Linked DNA regions of Homo sapiens: all the other regions are linked to region 1. The links are contacts of gene promoters, found by promoter capture Hi-C in blood cells and fetal thymus (Javierre and others, 2016). All regions are on one chromosome and are shown on one strand. The core of a region is centred on a gene start or on the middle of the fragment in contact, and the rest is flanking DNA. Distances in the headings are between cores, read along the strand shown. Region 1 holds the start of VIM (vimentin). Region 2 overlaps CUBN (cubilin). Region 3 overlaps CUBN (cubilin). Region 4 overlaps CUBN (cubilin).

Region 1 (3,769 bases), core at 1,270-3,769:
TTACCTATTATACTATTTATTATTATTACCTGTATTTCCATGGATTTTAGGTTTTGCTATGGTTTTCATGCTCTCAGTGTACCCTCCTTCTTCTTTCTAACATTCCATCCAAACAGTCCTGCTAGATGCTGTTCTCTTGGCATGGCTAGCCAGCTTTCCCAAAGCCTCCATAGGCCACTAAGCTTCTGTCCACACGGCTGGCTGGTCCGTCAGTTTAAGTCACCCAATTCAACTGACATCATGACAGCTTGCAAATTCCAAAATCACTGTTGGTAATTTAGATGTGGTAGTGTTTATGCCTGGCCTATGAATTATACCACCACGTCTTTATTTATATGCAACTTGCATCATGCTGTGTTGAAAGCAGCTTCCCAGTCCAGCACTTGAAAATACTTCTCAGATAGGTTTTCATAGCAATTAAAAAATAAACACAAAACCCGGGAAAGCTATGTCTGTGTACCCAAAAGATACCTAAGAACACAGTAGCATAGAGAGCAGGCTGAGTTGTCTCACTCAAGGATGTGAGTTCAGATTCATTGATCTCCCTGACTGAAAACTATCACCCATTGATTGAGGCACTGTATATCTTATCTCAGAATGAAATGAATTCTTAAGTCTCATGAATTCTACATGAATGAATGAAAGTGTTTCTGCAACTTTCACTTCTCTTGCAGCCCACCAAAAACAATGGCATTTTCTAATAGGAAAAACACATTGAACGCTGTATATGTGCGTATGTATATGTGTGTGTAGTACATACATATACTTTATTTTGAGACAGGTTCTCACTCTGTTGCACAGGGTGGAGTGCAGTGGTGTGCACAGCCTACTGCAGCCTCAATTTCCCAGGCTCAAGCAATCCCCCTGCCTTAGTCTCCCAAGTAGCTGGGACCACAGGTGTGCACCATCACGCCTGGCTTTTTTTGGTTTCATATATATATGTTGCCTAAGCTGGTCTCAAACTCCTGATCTCAAGCAATCCTCCTGCTTTGGCCTCCCAAAGTGCTGGGACTACAGAACACCTACACTTTTATACATTCTATATGCATCAAACAAACATATGTCTGTGACAAGAGAGCAGCCTATCACAGCCCAGAGACTTCAGAATGGGGACAGGTTGGAAGGAGGAGCTACCTATCCCTGAGATGATGAAGAGGACCAGTGCCCATTCCAGGAGACATCACCGCAGCCCTGAGGAATCGGCTATGGGCACCAGCAGGGCACAGTGCCACACCTCGCCAATGCCTTGTCCTCCTTTTCCATAGTGAGTCAGTCAGCAAGCGTCGCATTGCCCTGGGATCGGCACTGCACGTAGAAGTGAGTTCCACACTCTCTTCCTCCCATAGGGAGATCACTTTTCTCATTCTAAGGGTTCCAGGCACACTCACAATGGTGGCATTTGCTGAGCAGTGGCTTGAATAAAGGGCTCTCAGAAAGCAAGATGTAACTCAGAGCATAGGCTTGTCCTCCAGGGCACCCAGCCCCAGGAATGCTCTTGGGGAATGACCTGCAGCCTCCCAGTGAAAGAGAGAATAAAAGAAAGCCCCAGCAGGCGAGCTGGGCAGTAGAGAGTCCTGTAATTCCACCTTGGCAAGCACCATTTGCAAGAACGAACTGGGATAAGGTAAACAAAATATTGCCTAAAAGAGGCTTGTCCAAAGAAGTCAGAATACGCTCTTCATTTACCTCTAAATTATGTTTCTTAAATACCAAGTAACCTGCAGTACCCCCTGCCGCCACCAAAAAAAAAGAGAGAAATACTTTTTTTTCTCCTATCCACTGCAGAATCAATTTTACAGTGGTTCTGCAGTTAATCCTTTCAGTACACCATAAATCTAAATACTCAAAAAAACCTGTGCCTTTTCAATTGCTACTAAATCACGAGAAGACTGATTTACATAGTCTCCTTTTATCTCCCTTGGCGGGTAAGTACTCAGCTCTGCTCGTTACTAATATTGAAACAACAGCCCTTGAATTGAGTGATTTCCCTAGAAAGGTTAAGGTGACCGAATCTGAACACTCCCTCCATGTCTTGGACACGAAGTTTTTTGCTGCGTAGACAGTTTTATCCCCCTCACCCCAAGGTCAATTGCACGAATTCTTTTGGAAAACAGGACCTATGGCATTTCCCAGACAAATCACCGTGAACCCTGTACTGTGCATTGCTGTCCTAAAATTAACACATAAATCTATTGCCGCCAAAGATTCTGTCATTTGTGTTACATAATTGCCTTTCATTTGAACTCATTAATCAAATTGGGGTTTTTAAGCAACACCTAATTAATTCTTTAACTGGCTCATATTATACCTTTAATGACTTCCACCAGGGTAAAAACCACTGATCACTGAGTTCTATTTTGAAACTACGGACGTCGAGTTTCCTCTTTCACCCAGAATTTTCAGATCTTGTTTAAAAAGTTGGGTGTGGTTTCATGGGGGGAGGGGGAAGAGCGAGAGGAGACCAGAGGGACGGGGGCGGGGACTCTGCAAGAAAAACCTTCCCGGTGCAATCGTGATCTGGGAGGCCCACGTATGGCGCCTCTCCAAAGGCTGCAGAAGTTTCTTGCTAACAAAAAGTCCGCACATTCGAGCAAAGACAGGCTTTAGCGAGTTATTAAAAACTTAGGGGCGCTCTTGTCCCCCACAGGGCCCGACCGCACACAGCAAGGCGATGGCCCAGCTGTAAGTTGGTAGCACTGAGAACTAGCAGCGCGCGCGGAGCCCGCTGAGACTTGAATCAATCTGGTCTAACGGTTTCCCCTAAACCGCTAGGAGCCCTCAATCGGCGGGACAGCAGGGCGCGGTGAGTCACCGCCGGTGACTAAGCGACCCCACCCCTCTCCCTCGGGCTTTCCTCTGCCACCGCCGTCTCGCAACTCCCGCCGTCCGAAGCTGGACTGAGCCCGTTAGGTCCCTCGACAGAACCTCCCCTCCCCCCAACATCTCTCCGCCAAGGCAAGTCGATGGACAGAGGCGCGGGCCGGAGCAGCCCCCCTTTCCAAGCGGGCGGCGCGCGAGGCTGCGGCGAGGCCTGAGCCCTGCGTTCCTGCGCTGTGCGCGCCCCCACCCCGCGTTCCAATCTCAGGCGCTCTTTGTTTCTTTCTCCGCGACTTCAGATCTGAGGGATTCCTTACTCTTTCCTCTTCCCGCTCCTTTGCCCGCGGGTCTCCCCGCCTGACCGCAGCCCCGAGACCGCCGCGCACCTCCTCCCACGCCCCTTTGGCGTGGTGCCACCGGACCCCTCTGGTTCAGTCCCAGGCGGACCCCCCCCTCACCGCGCGACCCCGCCTTTTTCAGCACCCCAGGGTGAGCCCAGCTCAGACTATCATCCGGAAAGCCCCCAAAAGTCCCAGCCCAGCGCTGAAGTAACGGGACCATGCCCAGTCCCAGGCCCCGGAGCAGGAAGGCTCGAGGGCGCCCCCACCCCACCCGCCCACCCTCCCCGCTTCTCGCTAGGTCCCTATTGGCTGGCGCGCTCCGCGGCTGGGATGGCAGTGGGAGGGGACCCTCTTTCCTAACGGGGTTATAAAAACAGCGCCCTCGGCGGGGTCCAGTCCTCTGCCACTCTCGCTCCGAGGTCCCCGCGCCAGAGACGCAGCCGCGCTCCCACCACCCACACCCACCGCGCCCTCGTTCGCCTCTTCTCCGGGAGCCAGTCCGCGCCACCGCCGCCGCCCAGGCCATCGCCACCCTCCGCAGCCATGTCCACCAGGTCCGTGTCCTCGTCCTCCTACCGCAGGATGTTCGGCGGCCCGGGCACCGCGAGCCG
Region 2 (3,769 bases), core at 750-3,249, 360 kb before region 1:
TGGCCCACTGCAACCTCCATCTCCTGGGTTCAAGCAATTCTCCCACCTCAGCCTCCTGCGTAGCTGGGATTACAGGCACACACCACCATGCCCAGCTAATTTTTGTATTTTTGTAGAGATGGGGTTTCACCATGTTGGCCAGGCTGGTCTTGAACTCCTGACCTCAGGTGATCCACCCGCCTCAACCTCCCAAAGTGCTGGGTACATTTGTTGAGTGATTTTTTTACAACATTAAAATATGTCATACGTAAGTTTTAAAACCAAGCCCTTACATGGCATATTCTTCTAAGCTTCAAGGAAAAGCAATCATAATCAGGTGGGGGTGGGGGGGGGGCGGGGAAATTAAATAAAGCAGAAAGGTAACAGTCCTGACAAATAGATTTACAAGTCCAGAATTCTTACCCAATGTCTGCCGGAAAGACATCTTCCAGCCTTTTGCTGTCTGAAATGAATCTGTCTTGAACACCAGGAGCATACTATTATTGCTGCTCTTCACATTTGGTGGGCGCTTGGAACCGCAGAATTTGCCAAGAAGGGGATCGCTGGTATTGGCACCATCGTAAATTGCCAGGTAGTCATGGGAGCAGGAGGTGGAGGGAACCACATCAAAATCACTGAACCTGTGAAATGTACCTTGTTAATACTGATGTTTCCATTTGGACTTCTATTAAATTGTAGCTTTAGCTCTTGCAAAAAAAATGACAAGGAAAAAACTACCAGTAGAGCATTCAAAACTCACTTGATATGAAATATTAGAAATCAAACAGTACTTTACTGATCAGTTCAAAAGTTTAGCCAAATTTGTTTTTAGTAATTACAATACAACAAAAACTGTGACAGCAGCTGGGGATGTCAAAGTGAGTAAGATACAGTCTTACTTTTCAAGGAATTCACAGTCTAGGGCATATTAAAGTCCATCTGAGAACAACTTTTGACAAGTTGAACTGATATTTACTATCCCAGCAATACTTTAGTTTTTTAGGTCTCATTAAAAATACCATATTTACTCTTCCCTTGTTATTTTATGAGATGAAGTAGAACTTATGGGAAGCATGTTAATATAATAGAAGAAATGCTGCTTTTAGAATCACAGCTCCATTCTCCTCACAGTCTCATTTTCCTCTTTTAAAATGAAGTTTATGTTAAGGTCAGGTGAAGAACAGGAAATTTACATTTAAGACCTCTGTGGTGGTCACTGACACTTCTGCACATGGTCCCAGCTCTCTGCCTCCCCAGCACTGGTAGGATTGCCCTAGGGGCACACTTTGAGGCTTGACATGGCTGCTAGGAGTTGCTTTGACCACAGAAATGTAAGCAGAAGGGATACATATTACTTTACGGAAGAAGCTTTACAAATGACTACTTGCTTTGCCACACTGCCTTCCCACTGCAGTGATGATCATGGAAGCAAATGTAAAAACGAAGCTTCCATCAGCCTGGGTTGTTGGATGACCACGATGAGCAGAGCTTCCATGCCAGGCCACACTGAACATGCTCATTACAATGAGAAATCAACTTGTTGAGTTAAGCTGCTGTGAGGTGGAGTTGTTTGTTACTATGTGCATAACCTATCCTGACAGATGCATCCCTAACTTTTCTCTGTCTTATACAGTGTTTAATTCAGGTCTTATTCTTTGTCATTTCAAATAACGATTTCTAGAGTTCCTGAACAAGCAAGGCTTCTTACATGGATTTACTTTAGAGTTTTGTGGTGGGTTTATTATAGCTTATTTTTAAAACTTGTTTAAAAAAATAATATTTGATATCCTGTCCTCATTTTTATAGGTTCTTCTGCTTTTTCTTTTTTTTTTTGAGACAGAGTCTCACTCTGTTGCACAGGCTGGAGTGCAGTGGCACAATCTCAGCTCACTGCAACCTCTGCCTCCCTGGTTCAAGTGATTCTCTTGCCTCACCCTCCCGAGTAGCTGGGATTACAGGTGTCCACCACCATGCCTGGCTATTTTTTTTAATTACATGTATATTTTTTAGTAGAGATGAGGTTTCTGCCATGTTGGCCAGGCTGGTCTTGAACTTCTGACCTCAGGTGACCTGCCTGCCTCAGCCTCCCTGTGCTGGGATTACAGGCATGGGACACCATGCCCAGCCTGCATTTTCAATTTATTTTGGCAGTAGCTCTAATAAACAATCCATAATATGGAATAATTTTGAAAATATAGACTAAATAATATATATTTATATATAAAATATATAATAAATGCTTCCTTTCAACAGCCTTGAGAAAAAAAATTGTTGGTTTTTTTTCTAAAAGGTTTTGGTTGGTTGAAGGTTTTCAGACTGATGAGGAACAAGATGAAAACCGTATTGATTTTCTTTTACCACATTTAACATTTAATGTTATTGTAAAAGATCAGGGAAGAACAATAGCTAGATAATTTCCAACAACACTGTATTCATTTTAATTCTCTACAGACAACACATTTATTTTTCACAAAAAGAATCCACAAAGAGAGATAAAATCTGAGTTTCTAAGAGGACTTAAATCTGCTTTGGCTTTTTATTTTACATCATTTTCCCAGGAGAGCACAGAAGAGATCTGAAAAGCCCATTGACAGAAAAGCTTGTGTAACCACAATCTTTTGAGAGCCTTTTATTAATGTCTGCATCTTCTACCACACCTAGAATCTTATCTGTTTCCTAGAATGTAGGCTCTTAGTGCGCAATAAATAATTTTCTAAACCTGCAGATGTAGGCTGGGTGTGGTGGCTCACACCTGCAATCCCAGCACTTTGGGAGGCCGAGGCAGGTGGACCACTTGAGGTCAGGGATTCAAGACCAGCCTGGCCAACATGGCAAAACTCCATCTCTACTAAATATATATATATATACAAAAGAAAAAATTACCCAGGCTGGTGGCACACACCTGTAGTCCCAGCTACTCAGGAGGCTAAGGTGGGAGAATCGCTTGAACCCAGCAGGTGGAGGTTGCAGTGAGCTGAGATCACGCCACTGCACTCCAGCCTGGGCGACAGAGTGAGAGCTAGTCTCAAATAAATAAATAAGTAAAATAAAATAAACATGCAGATGTAAATTTCATTATGGTGAGCTCCAGGATCCAGGCTGAAAACTGAAAAAATACATTTAGATTGTATACATACATATATATATAGATAGATAGACAGATAAAGAGAGAGAGAATATATAACATACCTCTATGAGTTGGTATGTATACCATGGTTGGAATGTTTGTGTTCCCCTAAATTCATATGTTCCCTAAGCTAATGGTATAGGAAGTGGGGCCTATGGGAGGTGATTAGGTCATGGGGGAGGACCCCTCACAAATGGGATTAGTGTTTTATAAGAGGCCCTTCCAGCTCATGAAGACACAGCAAGAAGGTACCTTCTATAAGCCAGAAAACAGGAGCTCACCAGACAACGAATCTGCCTCGACCTTGGACTTTTGCAGCCTTTTGTTGTTTATAAGCCACCCAGTTTATGATATTTTGTTAAAGCAACCTGAACAGAACAAGGCAATAATCAATCCTACACATATGAGAAACAAATAGTGAGTCACAGTAGCAAATGGCTCCCCCTTACACTTTCACGCCTGTGCAGGCATACTTCACAGAACTCCTGCTCCTGGCCATCTGACAGTTTCTGTTCTTTTGTCCCCAAGACCTAAAAGACACTCTGTTTTCCTACAAATAGTCCAGGTAAGAGCTGCAGTTTTCTTCGAGGTCCAGCCTATAGAACGCCTGATACAGGAACCAAATCAGGCTTGATGAGAGATGTCTTTCATCAAGACATCTCT
Region 3 (3,769 bases), core at 778-3,277, 300 kb before region 1:
ATCTCTTTTACCAAAATAAAGAAACCATGTTGACTTTAAATCTCATACAATGTGCAATAAAACATATGATTTCATTTACATATATATATATATGAATCTGGGATTCAAGTCATAGGATCATTTTGAAATCTATATTATCTAACTTCTGGTGGGACAAAGGAAAAATTTATTATTATATTACTTTCTACTGACATTACTCCCTTTTTTTGAAGTGATGCCTATTTATTTATTTATTTATTCAATTAAACATTACTAAAAAGCAAATGTCATCAAAATCAAATCATTACAGTAGAATTAAATGCAATTATAATCAAGTGTAATTAAGTACAAGCAATTACAGATATCATGTAATATATAATTAAATCAGTAATAATAGAATCAAAAAATTATGTGTTCTTTTGAAAACAGCATACAAATTATTACAAAATAAGGCAAATGTAAGTCTTATAATGTTTCTGTAACTAGAATTAACTTACAATTAGACATCTTATAATGGAAAGGTCTAAGGAATTCCAGGGATCAAGAAGAATAGTTTATTTTATACTCATGGAAAATTTCACTTTGGTCACTAATTAGGTATGTGGCCTTGGAAAAGTCCAAGCCTCATTTTATTTATCTTTAAAATGGAAATAATGATACTTTACTTGAAAAGTAGTCACGATGAGATATTGAATGTATCAAATATAATAAGTACTTGAGAGTAGGCATTCTTATTAATTCTATTACTGTTGGTTCAGAAAAGAAAATTTTATATCAAAGAAGATCAAGCAATTGCAGGAAAAGCAGATATAATTCTCAGTGAAAATACTTACCTAAACTCTTTGCCTCATATTTGATTTTAAATCCTTGCCCTTCATTACTGTGATCAGAAATAAACTGAACAAACATTTGATTATCCGAGGTGAACAGAGTTGATGAAGCATGACTGCCACAAAAATGACCATTTCCTCCAGGGGGTCCCAAGGGTGGAGAACAGATATCAGGACCATTTCTTAGCTGGAAAGACAAATTAAAATTTCATCAACTCCTTTACATTGCAAAAGAAGGAGTACGCAATTCTTATCCATTTATGTCCCAGGAGAGAAAAATTATCATTTTGTTTTCTGAATGAAGTCTATGGAAAATGTAATTAGAAAGGGTAGCAGCAAGACCTACCACCAAGTAATCCCCCTGGTTGCAAGAAGAATCTCCATTTGGAATCTGGAAAGGCTGTTCAAAATGGACAGCAATGGTCAGGCCACTTTGGACCAGGACGTGCCAAGAACAGTTGAGGTTGGATGGGTAAGTCTCTGGATACTTGGGGGACGTGATGATCCCTCTGTCTGCATGCAAATATCCACCGCAGCCTTCCCACAAAGAAACAAAGGTCGGTTATTTAAATAGCATTGGCAACTGGATTTTTATGCTTTCTTAGTTTTCTTGGGGGGTTTTCAAAGTGGAGGCAATAAAAATGCTTGAAAATAAAGCCAGAGTGCAGGAAATGATTATCATAACAAGCATGTATTGAGCACATGCTATTGGCTACTCAGTTTGTGGTGGTCATTGAGATCTGGGATACAGAGGTAAGTAAACAAGACAAATTACCTGCTTTCATAAAGATTTCTTTATAGATGGGGAAGACATACAATAAACAAATACATGATATGTGAGATGGTGATAAATTCTATAAAGAAAAATGGATGAGAGGAGGGAGAAGGGTACTTTATTGTTAGAGTTAAGTTAGAAAAGCCACGTCATTGGAGTAACATCTTAGCAGAGACATGAATGAAATGAAGGATCAAGCCAGATAGTTATGGGGGAGAAAACATTCCAGTTCAGAAAACAGTGTAAAGGCTTGATGTGTTAGAGGTACATCATGGAAGTCAGAATGGATGAGGCAGAATGAGAGATTCCAAAGGTAGCATGGCTAGGTCATGCAGGAAACTGAAAAGACTTATTCTGAATAAGAAGAGGAAGATGTTGAAGGGTTTTGGGCATCAGAATGGCATGATCTCACTTAAGTTTGAAAATGTCACTCTATGTGCAGTCCTTAGACTGTAAGGGGTGGAGGACAGGGAAGGACAGGAGCAGAGTGTCCAATAAGGAGGGGACCGCCTGAGGCCAAGGAGAGATGATAGGTGCACGGGCTAGGCTGGTAGCAACAGAAATGGAGAGGCGTGGTTGGAATCTAGATACATTGTGAGGGTAGAGCCAGTGTGATTTGTTGATGGTTAAGTGTGAGACAAACAGAAAAGTCAAAAATAACATCAAGATTTTGACTTAAATAATGAGAAAAATGTACTTTCCATTTGCTGAGATTATGAGGAGTGTAGAATTGGGGGGTGGTGGCATGGAAAAGGGTGGGAATAAAGTGTTCAACTTTCAAAGGTGAAATTTTTTTTTCTATCTATCTATCTATCTATCTATCTATCTATCTAGTCTAATTGGGATACAAGTGGTTTTTCGTTACATGGATGAATTGCATACTGGTGAAGTCTATATTTTAGTGCACTGGTTCCCTGACTAGTATACATTACACCTAATATGTAGTTTTTTATCCCTCATACCCCACCCATCCTCCCCACTTCTGAGTCTCCAAAGTCCATTATACCACTCACAGGTTAAATTTGAAATACATTCTAGACCGGGAGCTGCCAAGTATGTATATATACATAGACACACACACATATTTATATATATTATATACATATATAAACACACATATTAATTCCAATGGTTCCACCCTTACTATATACATACATGTGTATACATGTATGTATGTATAATGAGTTGCGATACATAGTAATATATACATGAGAGTGAGAGGGCAGGAGATAAAGGAAGAGGATAAAAGGAGGAGGCATTAATTCTCCAGTTGTCAGGGACCAGAAGCTCATCAGTAAGGGCAGACATCTCACACAGCTAGTTAAATTGTAGAGGTGAAAATGTATCTTAGGTCTAGTTCCAAAGCCCATGCTCTTAAGCCACTATGCAGCCTGCCTCCCTTGAGCGTGAGGAACACAACTTATCTTCAGTTGCTCCCTACTTTATAAAAGGTATATATAAGCATGGAGGAAATATTAGATTAATTTTTAATGTTAGATTGAGAATCTACTTTAAAATTATGTTTTTTGATCAAAACATGAGAGTCTTTCACTCTTCCTTGGACTACTTTATCACCTTTCAGTTAGTTTGGATTTAAGGCTGTTACTGGACTTCACATGTCAAGTTTGAAAAGTCTCAATCATACTGTGCATGATGGTATCCCATATATGGTGCCCGCTTTTGACTCATCAAATTCATATTTCAAGAGCAACAAACTCTTCCTGCCAACCCTCAGATGGCTGACTTCAACCAAGTAATTTATGAGAATAAATGATGACGTTTTGCTCCTTCGATGAGTTATGGATATGAGCTGTGCTCTATCTAGTTCCAGCCCTCAGCTAGGCTGAAAAATTGCTTTAAAGCTCTCTCTCATGCATTCCCTGGACACACCTCCTTTGGAGCGAAGATGCCACACCAGAGACCTGAAGGCAGCACACTTTTGTACGACTTGGCCCCAGTGCTTTGGATGAGGACTCAGCACTGATGTAAGGGGAGCCAGCCATCCAGAGCCTGGGCAGAGACCCATGTCCTCTGACTTGTCTTGTGTCCTGGTGCCCAAAAACATTATATTAGGAAGAGAGAAAGAGAGAGGAAAAGAGAGGAGATGAGATAACATGGGATTAAAAAATATTTGAACTCATTACTCTTGTGAAAGGATGCATTGAAGCCTGCCCTGGTTACACTG
Region 4 (3,769 bases), core at 831-3,330, 260 kb before region 1:
GAACCCCAAGCCATGAAGAGGGTGAGGGGTGGTACACGTCCAGAAACAAGCACCTGGCAGTGTCTGGTACATATTTGGCACCGAAGGGGAAAGTAATGAAGGAAACCCTGACCTCCTGACTTCAAAGCAAGGACACTTTCCATTTCATATTTGAATTCTTAACACTTTTCCTTCTATTGACAAATGAAGGCTGGGCTTATCAGATATAGAAGTGAAAGTGGGCTGGGCACGGTGGCTCACGCCTATAATCCCAGCATTCACACCTGTAATCAGAGGCCGAGGCGGGTGGATCACCTGAGGTCAGAAGTTCAAAACCAGCCTGGCCAACATGGTGAAACCCCATCTCCACTAAAAACACAAAATATTAGCCGGGCATGGTGGCACATGCCTGTAATCCCAGCTACTTGGGAGGCTGAGGCAGGAGAATTGCTTGAACCTGGGAGGTGGAGGTCGCAGTGAGCTGAGATCACACCTTTGCACTCCAGCCTGGGCAACAAGAGTGAAACTCCATCTCAAAAAAAAAAAAAAAATCAAAGTGGCTCCAGCCTGACCCTAAATTTATTTTCTCCCTCTATTTTTCTAGTCTGCCATTCCGTATCCTGTACATAACTGCAATTTTTATATTTTACCAAAATACTTATTCACTTCGTAGGAAGCATAAGGCTTTCGTTTTAGTGCTGATCCTGCTGTTAATTTCTACTTAGCCTTGACCCTGACATTTCTGGATCTCAGTATCTTTTTTATTTTTTAATTAATTTTTATTTTTTGCACTGCCCCACCTCCACCTCAATGTCTTTTTTTAAAAAATTAGGTGACAACAGCAAACGAACTCTAAGCTTTCTTCTTCCAACCTTAACATTCTATGTATCTATAGGTTTATGACAGTTAATCATATGTGAAATCATATTTAACATACAGCTAAATTACTATTTCTTCTTCTAACAACCCAAATTGTTATAGAAGTTTTGAAAAAACAGGATGGCTGGTCCCATTCCAGCATAATTTTCACTGGTATTTAAAGAGTACACTTGAACTCTGTTAAAAATCTCCTGAACCCCAACATTATCTGACAGCATCACTGGCAACTGAATATTTTTCTCTTTGCTAATAACTCTGTCTAAGCAACAGGACCAGGACATTAACTTGAATGTCTCCAAAATGAAGGATTGGCTTTATATGAACTGAGACTGCAGAGATATTATGTAAGATGTTGGACTTTGGGGTACGTTTCCCGTCCAGTGTCCATCTGGCTGTAAAGATAGAGGGCTGGTGCTTCAACTCCGGCCTTCATGAATCCCTGGACAACTAACTAACAAGCTTCCAGCCTTGCCAGGGCATTGCCTGGTCTGGTTCCAAACCTCTGCAGACCTCCTGTCCCCTTAAGTGGGCACATTTGGCAAATATATAGCAGATCTCTACCCCAACTTACCTGGACAGTCTTGTTTTCTTTTAAAACTTCCTTATCTTTTTGTAAAGTTGATTTATAAATCATCCAAGAAAAAATGACTTAGTTTGTATACAATTTATGCAATTTTTAACATAATGAATTTATAAATCAGAAAAATCTTGTGCCAAGCCATGGGTTTCAATTTCTTATTCTAAAAAGTACAACATTCATAGAACCAATCTGGCGCTTCTTGGTGTCTCTGTCCTGAAAACATGATTTTCTCTACTGTTCGCCTGGCTCTCACATTCAGCTGCTCTTTTTCCACCTGCCCTCTTCACACAACTTATATTTCTCCATTTTTTTTAAAAAACCAACTCTCCACTGATTTTGGTTAACCCATTGGTTACTGCCCATTTTCTCCTTATGCCACTCATTTCCGTAACTCTGGGGAAAAGCTCAGAAGCTCCTGCACCTCCTAACCACTGTGACCTTGAGTCTTCCACCACCACCCGCCACAATCCTGCTCCTTGCAGGTTATTAAAGACGGAATCCAGGGGCTTTGTTGCAATCCTCACGCTCGTTGGCATCCTGCATGGGATTTGATACCTTTGATCACCCACCCTTGAAATTCAGCTTCCCTCGTGGTTTGAATGCTACCACTCTCTTCTGGTTCTCCACCAAGCACTCAGCGCACCTCCTCAGCCTCCTCTCCTCTGATCTTTCATCCACCCGTTACATGGCAGTGTTTCCCCAGGAGTTGGCTTGGCCCCTTTCTCTTGGTAAAATACTCCTAAAAGTGATCATACCTACTCCCACAACTTTAATAACCACCCAATATACAGAAATTATCCTCAATTGTATATGTCTAGCTCAGATCCTATCCCAAGCTCTGAACTCTTATGTCAAACTATATAATATTTAAACCCAAAAGTTTACAAGTCAAACTCACTATCATCTACTCCCTTTACTCAGTTAATGGCCTCATCATTCACAATTTTTTTTTTTTTTGAAACAGGGTCATGCTGTCACCCAGGCTGGAGTACAGTGGTGTGATCACAGCTCACCGCAGCCTCGACCTCCCATGCTCAAGCCATCCTCCCACCTCAACCTCCTGAGTTACTGGGAATACAGGTATGTGCCACTTGGCCAGGCTAATTTTTTAATTTTTTTGCAGAGATGGGGTCCAGGCTGGTGTCAAACTCCTGAGCTCAAACAATTCTCCTGTCTCGGCCTCCCAAAGTGCTGGAATTACAGGTATGAGCCATCACTCCCGGCCATTCATTCATTCTTCAAGCAAATAGGCTTCCCCCCACCATCTCTATCACCAGCCCCACCCACCACCATGTAATTAGCCTCTAATTCTAGTGACTGCCACCGTGACAGTTCTCCACGTGTCCCTGCGCTCTCCATGTGTCCCAAGACCACTGCCTACTATGAGACCTTATCACCTCTGATCCAAGCTTTTTCCATTGCTTCCCAAACAGACATGCTACCATCTTTCTTTTTCTCTGCCAAGCCATTCTTCACACACTGCTGCCTGTTGTCACTGTAGAATACAGCTCTGAGTATGTTATTCCCGTTTTACAGAAAATTTTCACTGACTCCATACTACCTATAGGATAATTTCAAATTCTTAACTGGAGCAGAAGAGAGCTCAGATGTCTTCTGTAGCCCCTTGGTCTCCACATGCTCCCCGGCATTTCTTCACGCTCCAGGGACAACACTCTCATTTTTTATTCCCAAATGTGCGTGCACCATTTCCCCATCCTTCCCTTGCAGCCTCCCCTCGTGGCCTCACTGCTGCATTTCTACTGGCGAGACTCTGCCACTTAAATGTCGCCTCCAGTGTGAACGCTTCCCTGGCTTCCAGGCCCAAATGAATGATGTCGGCCATTTTCACAATGATTCCAGAGCACTGAGCCCTAGATATGCTAAATCCTAGGTGCTATACTACGAGGAAGATTCGAAAGTGGGCTCTTCTGCTTAAGAGCTTGAGGCCCAGAATTACAGACGGCAAGTCCTGACCCTGACTTCTTTTTCTAAAAACCTTTCACCTTAGGTTCAAGGGTCCATGTGCAGGTTTGCTATAGAGGTAAATTGCCTGTCATGGGGGTTTGGTGTACAGTCTATTTTGTCACCCAGGTAATGAGCAAAGAACGTGATGGGTGGTTTTCAACTTGCTCCCTCCTCCCAGCTTCCAACCTCAAGTAGGCCCTGGCGCCTGTTGTTCCCTTCTTTGTGTCCATATGTACTCAGTGTTTAGCTCCCACTCCTGAGTGAGAACATGCAGTATTTAGTTTTCTGTTCCTGTGTTACTTCATTTAGGATTATGGCCTCCAGCTCCATCCATGTTGCTGAAAAGGACATGGTCTTGTTCATTCT

What was found. Contacts are between HindIII fragments. The CHiCAGO score rates a contact against its expected background, and 5 or more counts as called.
Region 2: a contact is called between a fragment that was not itself captured here and the fragment with the promoter of VIM in region 1, in 15 of 17 cell types (activated CD4 T cells, M0 macrophages, total CD8 T cells and 12 more). The highest score is 23.8, in activated CD4 T cells.
Region 3: a contact is called between a fragment that was not itself captured here and the fragment with the promoter of VIM in region 1, in 14 of 17 cell types (activated CD4 T cells, naive CD8 T cells, M2 macrophages and 11 more). The highest score is 18.2, in activated CD4 T cells.
Region 4: a fragment that was not itself captured here is called in contact with the fragment with the promoter of VIM in region 1 in 10 of 17 cell types (endothelial precursors, activated CD4 T cells, M0 macrophages and 7 more); the score reaches 12.2 in endothelial precursors.

What each region holds. Positions count from the first base shown.
Region 1 is chr10:17,225,722-17,229,490 of GRCh38, forward strand. VIM (vimentin) reads left to right here and starts at 2,520. Exons shown (of 10, transcript NM_003380.5): 1 at 2,520-2,803; 2 at 3,555-3,769. The coding sequence starts at 3,702. It overlaps VIM-AS1 (VIM antisense RNA 1), which reads right to left. Exons shown (of 3, transcript NR_108061.1): 1 at 3,624-3,769. RefSeq lists a silencer at 999-1,213. The HindIII fragment of the contact is 5,594 bases long and covers 181-3,769 here.
Region 2 is chr10:16,869,234-16,873,002 of GRCh38, forward strand. CUBN (cubilin) reads right to left here. Exons shown (of 67, transcript NM_001081.4): 59 at 403-620. Among named protein-coding and RNA genes, the nearest start is that of RSU1, 54 kb to the left of the region's middle. The HindIII fragment of the contact is 1,153 bases long and covers 1,424-2,576 here.
Region 3 is chr10:16,924,429-16,928,197 of GRCh38, forward strand. It overlaps CUBN (cubilin), which reads right to left. Exons shown (of 67, transcript NM_001081.4): 41 at 3,729-3,769; 42 at 1,156-1,346; 43 at 813-996. Among named protein-coding and RNA genes, the nearest start is that of RSU1, 110 kb to the left of the region's middle. The HindIII fragment of the contact is 5,679 bases long and covers 1-3,769 here.
Region 4 is chr10:16,970,063-16,973,831 of GRCh38, forward strand. All of the region lies in intron 31 of CUBN (cubilin), which reads right to left. Among named protein-coding and RNA genes, the nearest start is that of RSU1, 150 kb to the left of the region's middle. The HindIII fragment of the contact is 1,530 bases long and covers 1,316-2,845 here.